2 separate regions of the Homo sapiens genome follow, and region 1 is linked to region 2. Evidence: promoter capture Hi-C in human tissues and cell types (Jung and others, 2019). All regions are on one chromosome and are shown on one strand. Each heading gives the region's core, a stretch centred on a gene start or on the middle of the fragment in contact. The rest is flanking DNA. Distances are from core to core; before and after follow the strand shown. Region 1 overlaps SCUBE1 (signal peptide, CUB domain and EGF like domain containing 1). Region 2 holds the start of EFCAB6 (EF-hand calcium binding domain 6).

What was found. Contacts are between HindIII fragments. The study calls those that stand out against the background at their distance.
Region 1: a contact is called between a fragment that was not itself captured here and the fragment with the promoter of EFCAB6 in region 2, in 1 of the 25 tissues and cell types used here (lymphoblastoid cells).

Annotation. Positions count from the first base shown.
Region 1 is chr22:43,243,979-43,246,678 of GRCh38, forward strand. The region is part of intron 6 of SCUBE1 (signal peptide, CUB domain and EGF like domain containing 1); the gene reads right to left. Among named protein-coding and RNA genes, the nearest start is that of SCUBE1-AS1, 31 kb to the right of the region's middle. The HindIII fragment of the contact is 3,857 bases long and covers 1-2,700 here.
Region 2 is chr22:43,811,040-43,813,739 of GRCh38, forward strand. It overlaps EFCAB6 (EF-hand calcium binding domain 6), which reads right to left and starts at 1,266. Exons shown (of 32, transcript NM_022785.4): 1 at 1,129-1,266. It overlaps EFCAB6-DT (EFCAB6 divergent transcript), which reads left to right and starts at 1,383. Exons shown (of 2, transcript NR_186822.1): 1 at 1,383-1,945. RefSeq lists a silencer at 788-1,029 and enhancers at 1,361-1,630, 1,872-2,673. The HindIII fragment of the contact is 13,383 bases long and covers 1-2,700 here.

The DNA of each region.
Region 1 (2,700 bases), core at 28-2,527, 570 kb before region 2:
AGCCACTGGTCTTCACAGGCGGGTCAATTTCACGGTGCTAGGTGGCCGGGAGAGGGGAGCTACAGAGATGAATGTGACATGCCCCAGGTGTCAACAGTTTATGGAGTGGCGGGGGGCATGAAATAAGGCCCAGACCTCGCCTTTCTCTCCTGGGTCTGCGCCTTCCTCTCACACTGCCCACCTCCCAGCCCATGCCCCGCCACACCCCAGCACGGTTCCTCAGGGTTCCACAGGGCACCCCCCTTGGCCTTGAATAACCAACTCCTCAGGACACAGCAGGCCCCACCTGCCTCCCCGAAAGCTGTCCCGAGCCTTACCCTGGGCTTCTGCCCCACAGGGCAGCGCTGTCTGTGTGTGCAGAGGCCTCTCCCACTGACCACACGCTATCTGGGCAGGGCAGCGTCAAGGTGACCAGCACGGCGGAGGTGTCTAATGAGTTGTGCTCAATGACTAGATTAATGAGCAGGGACTCTGGAGGCCCCAAGAGGAACAGAAGCAAGTCTGGGAACTGGGACCCTACCCTCTGTTGGGCCTGGAAGGGAGAGTGAGCTGGGAGGCGAGGTGGGCAGGACTGAAGGGCGAATGTGCCCCTGGTGGAGGAGGCAGTGTGGTGCTGCGCTGTGCAGGGCACAAGGGCGCTCTGTGGTGCACAATGGGAAGTGGGTGTGGGTGCCAGGCTCAGTGCCAGCACACGGGGGGACTGTGGGCAAAGGACCCTCCCCTCCCTAGGCCCTGGGTTTCCCACCTGTGTTGTGCCTGAACATCGCTGAGGTGCTTTTCACCAGGGCAGAGGCTCTGATCCGGTGGGTCTGGCATGGGCCCAGCGTCCCACAAAGGCCCTGCCATCCCTTCTTCCTCCCTGCCCCTCAGTGGCCTACCCTGATGATGGGGGCAGCCCGGGGTCCTCGCCAGAACCTGCTGATCCCTCAATCAGGGCTGGCCCACCTGCCCTTCTGTCCCTAGAATCAACAGAAGCTGCGGTGAAAAGGGATTGGCCGGCCCTTCCGGCAGATCTGGGGACCTCTGACCTCTGACCATCTTCCCACAGCTGGCTGCTGAACCCTCCATGGCTCCCATCGCTTTGGGATAAAAGCCACGCCGTGCTCCCTGGCAAGCCCCTGACACAGTGGCCCTGGTCTCCCTGGCTGGCCTATCTCCCGAGGGGCCCTCTGAACTCCGGGGAGGCCCTGTGGCCCGTCACTAGTGTTGTGCAGCAGCCTTATGGCCAGCGCTGTGCTGGGCACCACGAATGTGGCCTCCCTTGCGCCTCTGACAGTCAGCAGGGTGTGGTGGAGGGAACTTGACACCCTCAGCAGAGGGCCGCGCCTGGTCCTGACCACGCCTCCCCGCCTGCCTCTACCTCCACTGGGCAAATGGTCAATCCTGAGACCTGTCTGCTGGGGGGGTGCCGGCTGGGTCTGCCCCAGGGCTGCCTGGGGACACGCTGGTGACAGTGCATGCAGGTGGTGGCGCGGGTGGGGTGGGGCTCAAGTGTGGCTGGACGCAGGGTGACTGTGGAGGCTGCAGCCCTGACAAGGAAGTGGCTCTCAAGGAGAACACGGGACAGGACACCCCGGCAGGCTCCTCCAGAGCCAGCGCTGCTCGTGTCTAAGGCTGCGGGGCCCCAACGCCCATGATCCCCAAGGGCCACCCAGGCCTCTGAGGCAGCCCAGGGTCTCCTGGACTCTGCCTTTTTAGTACACAGCCCCGTGACTCTGAGGCCCATTTTGGCCCTCTGCTGACCTTAGCCCGGCCCTGCTGAAATAAAAGGCCCACAGGCCTGCACCATCCTTAGGGCCTCCGTCTACCTGAGAACCGTGCTGCTTGGGGAACAATTTGCAAGGCAAATTATTGTCAGTGGCACTGTCTTCCAAGGCAGCAGGCGGGGCCTCAATTCCAGGATGCGCTAGGAGTGTGGCAAGCCACCTTCTCTCGTGACTAGTGGGCGGGTGGGTGTTCCCGCACCTGCTCAGAAAGCAGAAGCCACTGGGATGGAGGGACGGTGCCCTGCAGGACTGTGGCATGGGGGCTGCAGGGAGGCCTGAGGGCTGGTGGCACCAGGTGTATGGAAGATGCCCACCCAGGAGCAAGACAAGCCGACCTCAGGAGAGGTCTCCTCACTTGGTTTGAGGGGTCCCGAGTGCCCCTTGGAGGACAGGGAGGTTTCATATTAAAGCAGGTGGCAGGAGCAGGGCCTCCAGTGGCCAGTCTCCCCCTGCCCTGCCTCCTTCACTTCCTGCCTCTACCCTGGCTCCTCAGTGAAGGGTGCTTAGGGCAGACAAGGGGGCTCCCCTGTGGGTGGGATCCCTGGGGCCCACCCACAGGAGGCATCATGGCCGTGCCCCAGGAGGCTTGGAGGGTTGAGATGCGGTAAGGGGAAGGAGCTGGTGAGGGCAGGCAGCTGGGAAGCAGCTGGGCCAGTGCTCTTCCGTGCACCAGGCGGACCCTCCAGCTGTGTGTGCCCAGGGAGGCTTGGGGATCTGATCAACAGCAGCTCACACTCACTGATCAGGCTCATGCCAGGCCCTGTGCAAAGCCTGGGGAGGCAGAGCTATCACCTGCCTGCCCCTGGAGGGGAAGGGGTGTAGGATAGAGGGAACTGGAAGAGCTGCTCTCACCTCTCTGAGCTTCGGTTTCCTTATCTGTAACACTAAACCTTGCAGGTTGCCGGGAACATTGAACATGTCTGGTTATACATAC
Region 2 (2,700 bases), core at 16-2,515:
CCAAGGCGGGCGGATGGATCACTTGAGGTCAGGAGTTTGAAACCAACCTGGCCAACATGGTGAAATCCCGTCTGTACTAAAAATACAAAAATTAGCTGGGCGTGGTGGCAGGCGCCTGTAATCCCAGCTACTTGGGACACCGAGGCACGAGAATCGCTTGAACCCGGGAGGTGGAGGTTGCAGTGAGCTGGGATCGCTGCACTCCAGCCTGGGTGACAGAGGAAGACTCCATCAGGAAAGAAAAGGAGAGGCGAGGGGAGGGAAGGGGAGGGGAGCGGAGGGGAAGGGGAGGGGAGGAGAGAGGAGGGGAGGAAGGGAAGAAAGGGGAAGGGAAGGGAGGGGAGGGGAGGGAGAAAAGAAAAGAAAAGAAAAAAGAAAAGAAAAGAAGAGTCCTCTTAACAGGGGCAAGACATCCTGAAAGGCAAAGATTTGGAGAGAAAGGAAGGGAGTAGAGAGAGGGGTGATTTGGACAACCTTCAAGTAAGCCCTATACAGATGTATACCTCACAAAGTGCTTCCAAACAAAATTTCTGAGGGAGGCAGGGGTAATTATGTGCAGGCTGTGGGAGAAGAGTGTAAAAGAGCAGAGATTTTGCCGTGATACAGAAATGAGTTTGAATTCTGGCTCAGAAACTTCCTAAGATAGTTGTGTGACTTTGGAAAAGCCCCTTCACCCCACAGGTTTCAAGTCCTCGTCTGTCTACAGGAGGGAGTCAATCATGACATTCACAAGACTGCTGTGGGCACAAATGAAATCAGGGGCATGAGACATGTTGTAAACTGGAGAGATTTAGGGCGTTTCCACACACATTTCCCAGCTGATTCTCACAGAGAGGCAGGGAAGAAGACGTCACCACCGTCAGCGTTGTTTATCGTTCTTCTCCACATATCAGGTAAGCTACGGGAACAGGGGCCCTACTGTTCCCCACAGGGCCCCAGGGCCTACAACATGCCTGGCACAAGCAGACGCGCCATGAACACCTGAATAAACGAATCACCACCCCTTCGTCCCTGGGGGTGGGCAGCAGCGCCGGCCTTCTCAGGGCAGTGAGACCCACGGAGCTGCCCGCCCGCCCGGCCCCTCCTCGGCCTGTCGCACGCGCGTGGCCACCCCGAATACAGCCTTACCGGGAACCCCTCCTCGATTCTCCGCCTAGCTGGGCCGGCACCCGCGTGCGCGGACCCCAAGCCGCGGGGTCTCAGAGGGGCTGCCCATTCGGCGTCTCTAGGACGCTGTTGCCCGAGAGACGACGGCAGTCGCTGACTGGAGAATGAGCCTACGCGCCTGGCAAGAAGCTGAGCTGTGATTGGTCAATTGGAGATAAACGAGGAGGGGGCGGGGCCAGGTCAGTCCCGCGCCTCCGCTCCCGGAAGAAATTTCCGCCGGAAGTCCCGTTCTCTGGGGAGCGGGAACCCTGGCGACCCGTGTCATGGGAGCGGGTTTCTGTTACGTGGGCTTTAGCGCGAGCTGGGCGGTCGGCCCGGTCCCACCGAACTGCATAGGGCCGTGTAGCCGGGGGAAGTCAGCCCCCTGCTCTGAGAAGCAGACTCTGCATCTGTAAAAGGCTAAGCGTGCCCACTGGGGCCTGTGGTCAGGATTGGCTGCAGTGAGGTCCGCAAAGCCCCTACCGCATCCTGCGCCTTCGTTAGGGTGAGCAGTCATGGGGACTCGCATTGTGCCACCACGTAGCGGGTCTCACTGGGTCCGCTTGTCTGCTCGAGGAGACAGCCGGTGAGGACGGGAGCTGGCCTGCTTTGCCCAGGCTGTAACCTCAGCCTCCGCCCATACCCACAGTAAGCATCCATTCCATTGATATTCGCTAAATGAGTGAATTATTACTAAGACAGAGGGCCGAGTGGAAGCGCCATAAATCACGTGAGTGAATGTAATTGTTGTCGCTGACCCTATGGAGCACTTCCCTTGCCAGGCACTCACCCATCCTAGGTATGTACTTTACATGTAATTGTCATCTTCATTTGTCTTCACAACAACCCTGTGAGGTGGGTGCTGTGGTTACTCCCATTTTACAGATAGGTAACTGAGGCACACAGAGCATTTTGTTCAAGGACACACTGCCAGTCAGGGGTAGGAGCAGAATGAGAACCTATGGAGCTTGCTCTTAGGCACCCTGCCACACTGCTCACTGTGGGAGAGAAGCAGCCAGGCAGACGTGTGCAGCTTGGAATTCCTTGCACACATGGCTGCGGCAGGTCAATTAGGTGCCCTGGTGTGTGCTGCAAAGATGGATACTATGCGGTCCCTGCTGGGCACTCTGACTACTTCACTGGGCAGCTAGTTTTCCTGTTCACCAAGAGAATTCTTTCCCATGGCTTGTCTCAGACCTCCCGCACTCACTACTTCCTCACCGGACTCAATGACCATGGGTCTTATCCCATTGAGAAAATGTAATGCATAAGAATGGAATGCACTCCTTCACAATCACTTTGGCATTCATCGCCTCTTTTCCTCTTGCCCCAAAAGAGGGTCTCTTACAGAGGCCAGTCCCTCTAACTGTGTCCTGGATCCCTCCCCATTTGCCTTCTTTATTATAGGCAGTGCTCTAAGTGTGGTCTGGGAATCCCTGGGGATCCTGAGACCCTTTCAGACTGTCCATGGGGCCAAAAAATACTTTCATAACACTTAAGACTTTACTTGCTTTTTCATTGTTTTTCTCTCATAAGTATATGGGGGGATTTTCC